Regions from separate parts of the Homo sapiens genome. Here regions 2 and 3 are each linked to region 1. Evidence: promoter capture Hi-C in human tissues and cell types (Jung and others, 2019). All regions are on one chromosome and are shown on one strand. The core of a region is centred on a gene start or on the middle of the fragment in contact, and the rest is flanking DNA. Distances in the headings are between cores, read along the strand shown. Region 1 holds the start of RCBTB1 (RCC1 and BTB domain containing protein 1). Region 2 overlaps CAB39L (calcium binding protein 39 like). Region 3 overlaps CAB39L (calcium binding protein 39 like).

Region 1 (3,722 bases), core at 886-3,385:
AACAAATAGTACTGTTTCATGTGTCACTACTTTTGAACACATTGCTCTCTCCTGGAATGTCTTTTTCTTTCTTCTTATCTACTTCCTGTCCAACTGACCTTCTCATGAAGTTTCTCCCTGACTCCCTGATTTGTGGTCCCTGGTTTGTGTTCACTTAGCACCTTGTATCATAATACTTTTCACCCTGTACTGGAATAATGAACCAGACTACACATTCCTTATCAGCAACCATGTCTCATTCAGCTTTTAATCCTCCAAGATGCTCCAAGTATGGCATCTGACACATAAGCAGTGAGGGCTCAGGACATATTTGATTGCTCACACCCCATGCCCTCGTTTTTCTCTCAGACATGTTTACACAAGTTCTTTTGATCGGGTTGCAACCAAAAGAAACTGATTTTAGTTTCTTTGAGCAAAACAGGCCTCTTCTAGTAAATTCACTCAACTGCCACTACTTTGGGCAAGCCACTTCATTCAGTGAGTATTAAGGGTCTATCACATGCCAGGCGCTGTTCTAAACCCAGAAGAATCCTGTTTCAAAGAGTTTATAATCTAAGGGAGAAGACAGCAATAGACAATTCACCTTTTACAGGAAATGCGCAGTCTATTTCTGGGCAGTGTGAGGTGTATCAGAATATATATAGTATTCTGGAAATCAGGGAAGAAGTTGCAGCTGACACTGTCTGGATGAACTTCAATTGCTAAAAAATCAGGGAAGAGGATGCTGGGAAGACAAGAGTAGGCGGCATTTGACCTGGATTTTGAAAGATGAGTAGGAAACTGATGTGTACTTTGGAGGCTGTTGAAGAAAACCAGAGCCAAACAGTAGTTGAAGTGGTAAAAACATTTTATTCAGGAACTAGTGCAACAGGAGCGAGACCTCAGAATAGATACAGAACTAAGCTCAATTCTCTTATTGCATTAGTTTCTTAATACCTTTTTTTTTTTTTTTAATCATTGGCCCTGGTTTTCTTTAAGTGGGGGAGGTGGTGATTCAGGACATTTCAGATACAGACAAAAGAATGAACAAAGCAAAAAGGAGTAAAGAAACTTAGAGAAAAAGTAAATAATCCAAAGAAAGTTGAGTAGTCAAGGAAAACAAATTATTTGTAGCCAGAGCCTCCAGTAATGTTGGGGAAGTGGCAAGAGATGAGGGACGGTAGGACTTTTTTAATAATTCAAGTTACCAAAAGTGAAGTTATCTGGTGATATTTAGAAAATGAAATGTTTTTCTGTTTATTCCTAGGAGCTCAAATGGGAAAGGTAAGTGAACAAGTGGCTGGAATGCTATGCCAACAAGTTTGGATTTTATCCTGCAGCGCCAACTGGGAGTTCTCCGAGAGCTGTATGGTATTTTACAAAGGGACTGTAGTCTTTATAGGTGATAGGCTGGAGCAGCTCGTAGCAGTCCCTCTCCTGGCCTCAGTTTACTCGCTGGTAACACGAATCCGGTTGGACCAGATGCCCTCTTAGGTCCCGTCTAACCTCTATGGCATGCTTCCGAGGTACCTCTGCCTCTTTCCAATACCAGGACCTGTGCCTCATCTCGTCCTTCCTTCATACCTTTGTCCAGCTGCCACCTTCCCTAGTCCCTGGCCTGCCTCAGGTACTTTCAATCAGGAAGTGAGGGGCGGGGAGGGAGGGAGGCGCGTCTCCAGTAAAAACAAACTAGTCCCAGCTCCGCCGCCTTTCCTCCCAGGCAGCACCACCTGGGTGGTGCCCCGGGGCCAGACGCGCTCTAGAGTGGGCAGGGAGCCAAGTTTCTCGGTCGCTTTTCCGTCCTAGGTCTCTGGGGTGGTAGGCCGACCCTCCCCACAGCCAAGCCATCTCGGGGAGCAGAGCAGGAGCCCGTGCCTCGCGCGTTCCTGGTTCCTCAGACACAAAAGCCTCTAAGTCCCGGCAGCAGCCACCGGATTTCATGGGGACACTCCAGTGGCAGGGCCTCGGGGCGGGCCTGAGACGGCCAATCGGCTTCTAAAGAAGTCGGGTTGTAGGGCCCGAAGAGCAGGGTTTCGGCCGGGGCCGGGGCCGGGGCGGTGCGGGATGCTCGGCTGGGTAGCGTCCCGGGCGCGCGCTGCACCGGGTCACGTGAGGCGGCCGGGGCCACGTGACCCGGCGGGCCCGGCGCCCTGGCGCTCCTCCTCTTCGCTGCCGGTGGGCACCGCCGCTCGCTCGCACTTCTGCGCCCATTGGAGCTTCGGAGATCCCTGCGGTCCCGCGGGACGGCGCGGCAGCAGCTGACCTCGCAGGTAGCGTGTGGGCGCGGGGTCGAGCTCGCGGAGGCCTCTTCCCCCTCGGCCCTGCCCCTGCTTCCCTTCCCCGCAGGCCGGGCCGGGAGTGCCCCGTTACTCCTGTACCTCCCGCCTCCCTCGCTCGGGCTCCCGGGCAGTCCCTGCGGGCGCTGCGTCCGGGGCGAGGGATGGGGTCCCCGGCCCGGCCCCGCCAGCACCTCAGCTAATGTGCTCTCCTGCGAGGAGGAGGGAAGGATGGGGAGAGGCGAGGGAAAGTTTTCCCTGCCTCCCTCTCTTTTTTGAGGTGCACGGACTCGATTTTGCTCGTAGCTGAAGTCTGACTGCTGTGGGTGCCGTTTTACTGAGAGGAGATCTCCCCTCCGACTCTTCCTATTCTCTCTCCTTTCCAAGATCTTAGCATCTCTCCTTCGTCTCCTGAGAGTAGTGCTGTCACAAACCGTATTCTTTATCGTTTCCCTTTCCGACACAGAATCCACAAAGGCAGGGATTTTGTTAGTGAGGACTTTTATCCAGGCGTGCGGTGAACTCTAAATAAGTGACGTTTCCCTTGTCTGCCTCTGATAAAGTACCTACCTGCTCGGTTTAAGATGACTATCGAGCACGCTGTGTTCTGCTCGCATAAGTGGCCTTTTGTTTTTATTTATTTGCATGTAAGACACTTTCAAGCCATCTGCGGAACTCTGCAGCTGGGGATTACAATTTTATAAAGCAGTCTTGTAATAATGCTTTTAGAAAACCAGATTCATGATCTTCCTTGCTTTTGCCCTATTCTTTTTTTGGGAGGACTAAAAGCCCTTAGAGGACAAAAACTGAGTTTCTGAAACTGGTGTGTATTGTGGGCTAATAACATTAAAACATCAAAGTATATAATGCCGGAAGGAATGGAAAAATGATTGAATCCTGAGGGCAGTTTATAGGTGCTTTAAACTTTAGAGTACTCATTTCAAGTGAGCACTGGGTGAATTTCACCCGTTTAAACTGCTTTCAGGGTCGAGGATGTAACTGTATATTTGGATTCTATTAATATAACAGTTCATCTGTGGGATGGACTTTAATCCATTTAATCCATTGTGTGAATATCAGTCTATTTATTAATACTCTAGACGGGTCCTTTTTCTTCTACCCGCTAGTCTGTTTCTCTTGAAGAGGAAGCATATTCATCTTTAAAGAGATTTTTGCAAGTGATTTTTTTAAGTGTGTGATCCAAATGATAAAGTTCTGTGAACTTCAGAAAACAAGTAGCCATAAAAACCCAAAGCTGTCAAGCTTGTAGCTTTTAAAAAATGATTTGAAAATTTTAAAGCGTGCCCGTATGCTGCAGCAAGAACTTGGCTCCACCTAATATACGGGAGCTGGGAAGTCTGAAACAGTACCCTCCTTTTCCTGGGAGTCATTGTGGGGTAGATGAAACTGTGAAGGAAAGTGAGGACCTTTATTATGATGATGATATCCCTTCTGTGTGTACTACAT
Region 2 (3,722 bases), core at 363-2,862, 230 kb after region 1:
TTTGAATTCTGTCATTCCTTTTGTATTTTTTATTGGCTAAAGTAGTTTTATAGAGAATACTGTCATTCACCCACCACAGCTTCAGGTGTTAGAATACTCTGAAGTATAATTCATACCAGAGAGGCAGAATAAATGCTCAATTCTTTTCTTTTAATTATCATTTTAGAGAAAAATAAGATATCCTAGGAACTTTCATCGGTGTCTAATGAGTTATTTCCCTCCCTCCCCCTGCCTTTATATATGTGTGTGTGTATAAATATATATATATATTTATATATGTACAGAGACACACACTCTTCTAGTATCTGATGAACTAATGGATTTAATGTTTTCTATATGTCTTATTTAGTTCTACACATGTTTTTTTAATGCTCAATTGGCCATCTGTGGCCCCTTCTAGGTGATATCTCTTAACATCACTAAAATAGTTTCTGAGAGCTTCTTTGCTTTCTGGTGTAACGAGATATGCCACCCAACTTGTACATTTGCTGACAAAGACCTGAAATTTCTACCAAGGATGTTGGTTCTTTTTAGAGAGAAATGGTTCTTAGAGACTACAATCTGGTTGCTAGGGGTGCTCATTGACATTGGATTGTTATTGCTTCTAGGCCTTTTTGGTGGACAGAACTAACTCATTATTTTATTTATTTATCGAGACAGGGTCTTGCTTTGTTGCCCATACTAGAAGGTAGTGCTGTGATCACAGCTCACTATAGTCTCAACCTCCTAGGCTCAAGTGATCCTCCTGACTCAGCCTCCCAAATAGCCGGGACTACAAGTGCATGCCACCACACTTAGCTAATTAATTTTTTTTTTTTTTTTGTAGAAACAGGGTCCCACTATGTTGCCCAGGCTGGTTTCAAACTCCTGGGCTCAAGCAATCCTCCTGCCTTGGCCTCCCAAAGTGCTGGGATTATATGCATGAGCCACTATGCCTGGCCTAACTCATTATTTTTAGTCAGCAAATGTTTCTAGATTAGAAACATACGTTCTTGACTATATTGAGGAGGCCAAGTGTTTGTTGAATGGCATTTTACAAAAGCTTTCCAGGTATTTCCTGGCCTTGTTTACTTCCAGCAATAATCACAAAAGTCATTTTCCCCCTTACATAATGTAATCTTTGTTCTTAAATTGAAATATTCTTGCACAAGATCATTCTTCTGACCATTTTCTGTGTAATGATTACTGTAGCTCACTGCCAGCTGAGACCATTGCTCTTACATTTTGGCTTTCATTAAATTTGAGAGAGACTTTTCATTATGCTGTCATTATTTGATGGGCATGCCTAGATAGTGCCTTCTCCACACTGACACAGTTCATTATAGTCCAGACTATATGATCTAAATTACAAATCAAGAGGGAAGATAAGATTCAGTTCTATAAAATAGTGATTCAGCATTCATCAGATTAACCTTTACTGGGGACCTGCCATGGGTTAGCCATTGTGGAAAATGCAGTAATTAGGCAGGATCCTTGCCATCAGGAAGCTTATCTATGAGTAGAATAGATTAGGTGGGATACATATTGATTCTTTAACAGACCTAAGGATATTAATGTTAGTGGGATTTGAAACTTAACCTAAGCTTATCTTTTGGAGCACTTCTTTAAATAGTAAGCAATAACCTATCAAAAGTCAATATACTAGAGGGTAGTCAGGTAGAAATGATCTATGTGAATTATAAATCACTTAAAGAGTACTGAGGAGAATTAGAATTCCCTATATATCTCTGTATATCCCTATGTATTTCTGAATTTAAGAAGTTGTAATCTCAGAATGACAGATGTCAAACTGCTGGGATGAAATGACAAGTGTGCTGACCCAGAGGAGTCTTGGTTTTTTAAAAACATTCTTTTGATTCTCAAGAATAAACTGTCAGTGCATCACAGATGGTTTCAATAAGCTTCACGAAATGAAAGGAAAAAGAGAACTAATTATACCCAAAAGTTAGAGTGGAAACTTTTTATAGATGGTCTTAGTTTGGAAATTGAATTAAGAAATGAGAAAATGTTGGCCAGAGATGATGCATATTTTGTATACGTCAGAGTTTGACTCTCATTAGAGTACTCTAGTATTAAGACATTTCTTCAGTTTGAGGTTCATTAAATTCATTATATGCATGCTTCGTGAAAAACATTATAATAGGCACTCTTCGGAGACTGGGGTAGGGACAGGAGAAAGTAGCAATAAATGACATAGACACCAAATGGAGATGGGGATAGGGGAGGAGAGGAGAAGGTAACAGGATAAGTAAAACATATCCCCAACAATTAAATTGATTGTAATGAAGAAAATAGACCTATAGCAATTTACTGCAGTATAACATAATACAGAATGAAAAAAGTGTTAAAGAGAAATTACAGACAAGCTGTTATTTGAGTGTGAAGGGCAGAAAGAATAATCCTGAATTGTAGTGATTAGGAAAGGCTTCAAGGAGGAGATGGCATTTGAACTAAGCCTTGAGAGATGAGAAGCATCTGAGTTGTGGGAATGTAAGAAGGGCATTCCAATTGAGGGAATGAGGGGCTCCAGGGAAATAACGAATGTGATGGGAGATGAAACTGAAAAGTTAAGGTTAGGGCCAAATTACAAAAATCCACATATATCTTGCTGATCAATAAGTCTGGATTTTAATTGTCCTTCCCTTAGATTCTTTCTCTAGGCCAACAGCCTTTATTTTATACTCTCTTGAGTACTCTATCAATAAATGACAGTGCTTTTCTCCTTTACATTTCAGAACATATACCCCTCTTTACAACATCTTTAATAAAACCCCACCTGACAACTGTTCCTTGTGAGCCAATAGGCTGAGTTTCAGGTTTTTCTAATAAGAGAAATTGCTAGCACTATAAATTGGCATTCCTTATATTCTACAAAGAATCATGACTATCTGAATGTATCAGCATTTAATGTTACTATGAGTTATTCAGGGAATACTCAATATTTGTGAATATCATTCTGCATAAACAGGACAAAAATGAATAAATACCACCCTGGTATCTTTGTTTGCTGTTTCTTCTACTAATATTTGTAAATTTGATATTGGAAAGTAGTCTATTTCCTCAATTGAATCTTTATTCTTGAATCTGTCTTTCATGAAAATTCTATAATCTTATAAAGAGTAGTACATTACTTATTGTTCAACAAATGTTGTTACTAGTAGTTGATGAGTAATAAAATATCTTAAAGTTTTATAGTATCATAAAAGTTCCATAAAAACTAGTATTCAGTTGAAATGGTCAATGATATCTCTTTAAAAATATGGTCAGATTTTATTTTATTTTATTTTTATTTTTGGAGACAGAGTCTCGCTTAACTTTCCAGGGTCAAGCAATCTCCCACCTCAGCCTCCTGAGTAGCTGGGACTACAGGCGTGTGCCACCATGTCCAGCTAATTTTTTTAGTTTTTGTAAAGTCAGGGTCTCAGCTAAATTTTTTATTTTTTTATTTTTTGTAAAGTCAGCCATGTTGCCCAGGCTGGTCTCGAACTCCTGAGCATAAGCAGTCCATCCACCTCAGCCTCCCAAAGTGCTGGGAGTACAGGAGTGAGCAGTCACGCCCCACCAGATTTTTTTTTTTGGAGGGGGCCCTATATTCTGCTCACTTCCCAGTGTATCACAACTATATCTTTCTTTGTTCTATTCTTCCTATATTTACCACACAATTGTCAACTGTATTATTTCAATACAGGGCTTGTTGTACTTGGGCTAAGCATTATTCATTT
Region 3 (3,722 bases), core at 780-3,279, 190 kb after region 1:
AGGAGGAAGAAAGTGTATGTTGTTAACTGTGAAATTGAGTCACTGCATGAGGATACACCACTCTAAGCAGAGTTTCTAATCTACCCTCTGCTAGCCTCAAAAAATATATATGTCTTTAGTTATTGATTCAAGTGAATCCTTTAAGGCAAAACAACTGAAATGAAAACTTCTGCAGAGTATCAGTAAACACATTAGAAGGGCTTGTACCCTAGATAGACCATAAAATGGCTGTAATTTCTCTAACATTTCCTCTACGTGTACAGAAGCCTGTAAAACAGGTTTTGTTTTGTGGGATTTTGCAGGTTTTAATTTTTTTTTTAGACTGTTGACCTATGTATAAGAAGCAGCTCAACTGGTCTGTGGGAACCTTTTCTGGGCTAGTTAGTATCTTGCACTTAAAAGTAAACATCATAGAGATAATATCACAAACTTACTTTTACTTCTTTATAGATTTTCCCATGCTCAGTCCTTCTTAGACTGGTGGAAAATTATTTGCATACAGCTTCACACTCTTCAGAATAATTTTTTATTTTAAACTAATCATTCACTGTGTTACCTTAGTGATGGTACCATTTCCCAGGCCCATAGGAATGTAAATATAGAAATAAAGAATAATGCATTCCCAATTTACAAACACTTTGTATTTGAGAAGTTTACTTGTGAATGGGTTGTTGGAAATTTAGAACCCATTTTCCCTGGGAAACAGTTTATCAAGTGACTGTTGGGCGTTTATTATAGTCTAAGCATGTATTTTACCCATGCTGTAGAAAAACCATTGCTACCTTGAAAAATATAAGAAAGTCAATTCCAATGACGAAACTAAATATAAAATAATTATGTTGGATAAGATATTATTTTTATTCTAAATATGAATGCTTAAAGAAAAGCAAGTTTAATAGGTGGATAGGTATTTGGAAGGATGCTTATGGGTTTTCTGGGTGCTTTCATGAGCTTTCAAGGTTGATTGCACTGTTTTTGAGATCTAATCTGACATTGAAATCAGTGATTTCTCTTTTTCTTGCTACAAGAATATTTCTGGCCATTGAGTTTGTACTTAGCCATTCCTAAGGGTCTAGCCCAGTGTGTGGCACATAGTAGGTACCTGATAATAGTTATTGCATGAGGACTAAACTGTTTCTTTGGTTCACAAAAATTGAAATGGGTTATTTTCCAAGATATCCAATAAAGGAAAGAGGCTTAGGGGCACACGTTTTTCCTTATGAGAAAGAGATGGCCTGAAAAGAATTGACTGAATTGTGAGATGTGAACAAAGCAAAAGTAAGATAGAATAGGTCTAACTCTGAAGAGAACAAGAAAAGACCATGGTATAACTTGGTTGCTGCCTTGAATGAGTAGGAATGGTGCTGAGGGGAGGCAATTTACAAGGTTAGGTATCTTGAGTACATGGGACATTCTAAAGTCAGGTGTCAACTTTAACTCAGAAGGATTATGTATTTGCAAATGTTTACTAGGACCCATATGAAGAAATGTGACTTATTTGGAAAACTTGTCTTGGGTCTATCCAAGTTAACTTTACTGGTCCTGAAAGTCTCTGTGAATTGCCAGTATATGAAATTTAAAAGTCAGTAATGCAATATGCATATGTAATGAAATAATAATGAAATAAACAATACAGTAGATGCAGGTTTTGGTTATCTTGGATGATTTGTAATGGCGTAAAAACTCTTGCATTTGATCAAGAAATACTTTCTTTAGTCTATTGTAAATCTTATGTAAAAAGTAATGATTTTGAGTGGTCCTAAATGGTATATAATAGGTTCTTAACAAGTATTTACTGAATGGATACAGGTAGATTTGGACAATTTTCCATTTCTGGGATATATATATGACTGTGTTTACATGCACATATATATTCGTAATGTGGCTTAAAGATTATATTTAGCTGATAGTCACATAACAAAGAAAAATCTATTAAAACTATATTAGCATGTCTATTAATTATAGTCAAAGTTGGTATTTCACTAATTAATTAGTTTAAACAGAGATCTTTACTGCTTATAAGTGAGATAACATACTTTGCAGTTTTGTGACTTAAATGTCTCAAACTTCTAGCAGAAACTCATATAGTCCCTTCCAACTTTGGAAGGATGAAAGATTATATCAAATTACTCAGCCAGAAAAACCGAATCAACTTTGAACAGCTTGGGGATAACAGATAACTTTAGCAAAATCACTTTCATCTCTATTCTCTCATGTTAATGTTTTTATAGATTGACAGGTCATAGACAGGCACAGGGCTTACTGAAGCTATGAAATAGTTGTATTTCACACTATTTGTATAAACCATGTCTTAATATCAATAACAGTAACTAACCAAAATTTGTTATGTGTAATATGTATGTGCTTACAAGAAAGAATGAAAACTGAATTATGAGTCTCCCTTGATAATTCTGTTTTTTAAAGAGTAACCATTTGTTAATTTCAGTAAGATCTAATGCTTTAATGATAGTTACCAGTTTTTGAGAATACTGACTTTGGTTCAGATCGCTGCTATAAGTTGAGATTGTAAAATTCTAATATAAAATTTTCAATCATTGACAATTATTAATAGCTAATAAAGGTGGAAAATTTTAGCTCTGACAAATGACTGGAGCTGTCAACAGAAACATCAGTGTGAACGTAATGAATAAAGTTACTAGTTTTTTTTTCTGGAACTACAATAGCCTAGTAGGATCCTTAGATAATAAATGTAGTAGTAGTTGTATATATTCCTAACTTTATATGTTAATTATTTTTAAAAATGTATTTCAGTGTTACTGTACATTAGAAATAAAGAGTAATTAACAAGGGACATGAGTTTCTCTTATAAAAGAGTTTTTCTTCTGATGTAAGTCTGACTGAGGCTTCCAGATGAATGGGACTCATAAAAAGCTCCTCACAACTTTTCCATTTCTGTGTAAATTGCCCATTTTTAGAAAGTGCCTCTCCCTCAAATTTGGTTAATAAAACTTATAAAAACAAGTTATTCTTAGTCATTTTTAACTGAAAAAGGGATTGTCAGTGAAAGTTGTTATTTATACTTTATTGTTTCACTCATATCTATAGGTTTTCAAGTACAAAATTCAGTTGTGGTGCTTTGTAATTACATTTAGGATGCATATTTTAAAATGGAAAAATTGAAGCATAGAAGATACTGATTGGAAGATTCTTTGACATATATAATATGGTTCATAATGATATGGTATTATTACATATATAATGATATGCTTTGTAACTTAACCATCTCTGTGAAGGCAATTCTAAATTATGTTTTTTGGGGGAGAGTCTTCTTGGATACAGTAGCAAATACAGTAGAACTTTAAGGTGCACTTTTTTGTTTTAAGATTTTCATATAATCAAATGCACCCATTTTAGGAGAATGGTTCAATTAGTATTGACATATGTATGTACTCATGTAACCTCCATCCCATTTAATTTTAAAAAATGAATCTTACAGGCACAATTTTTTGCCATGTACACTTGATTTCATTTCTTTCTATCTGTGAATCCTATTTGGAATACAGGTAAAGGAATAGCATCCCTGACCTTTTCTGAATTTTTTTTTTGTTTTTTTGAGATGGAATCTCGCTATATCACCCAGGCTGGAGTGCAGTGGTGCGATCTTGGCTCACTGCAACCTCCGCCTTCTGGGTTCAAGTGATTCTCCTGCCTCACCCTCCTGAGTAGCTGGGATTACAGGCGCCTGCCACCACACCCGGCTA

What was found. The method cuts DNA at HindIII sites, captures the fragments that hold promoters and counts their contacts. A contact is called where the count stands out against the background at its distance.
Region 2: a fragment that was not itself captured here is called in contact with the fragment with the promoter of RCBTB1 in region 1 in 2 of the 25 tissues and cell types used here (adrenal gland and small bowel).
Region 3: a fragment that was not itself captured here is called in contact with the fragment with the promoter of RCBTB1 in region 1 in 2 of the 25 tissues and cell types used here (dorsolateral prefrontal cortex and hippocampus).

Annotation. Positions count from the first base shown.
Region 1 is chr13:49,583,971-49,587,692 of GRCh38, reverse strand. It overlaps RCBTB1 (RCC1 and BTB domain containing protein 1), which reads left to right and starts at 2,135. Exons shown (of 13, transcript NM_018191.4): 1 at 2,135-2,249. RefSeq lists a silencer at 1,902-2,611. The HindIII fragment of the contact is 9,086 bases long and covers 1-3,722 here.
Region 2 is chr13:49,352,313-49,356,034 of GRCh38, reverse strand. All of the region lies in intron 6 of CAB39L (calcium binding protein 39 like), which reads left to right. Among named protein-coding and RNA genes, the nearest start is that of CAB39L, 90 kb to the left of the region's middle. The HindIII fragment of the contact is 4,293 bases long and covers 1-3,722 here.
Region 3 is chr13:49,396,560-49,400,281 of GRCh38, reverse strand. All of the region lies in intron 3 of CAB39L (calcium binding protein 39 like), which reads left to right. Among named protein-coding and RNA genes, the nearest start is that of CAB39L, 46 kb to the left of the region's middle. The HindIII fragment of the contact is 6,659 bases long and covers 1-3,722 here.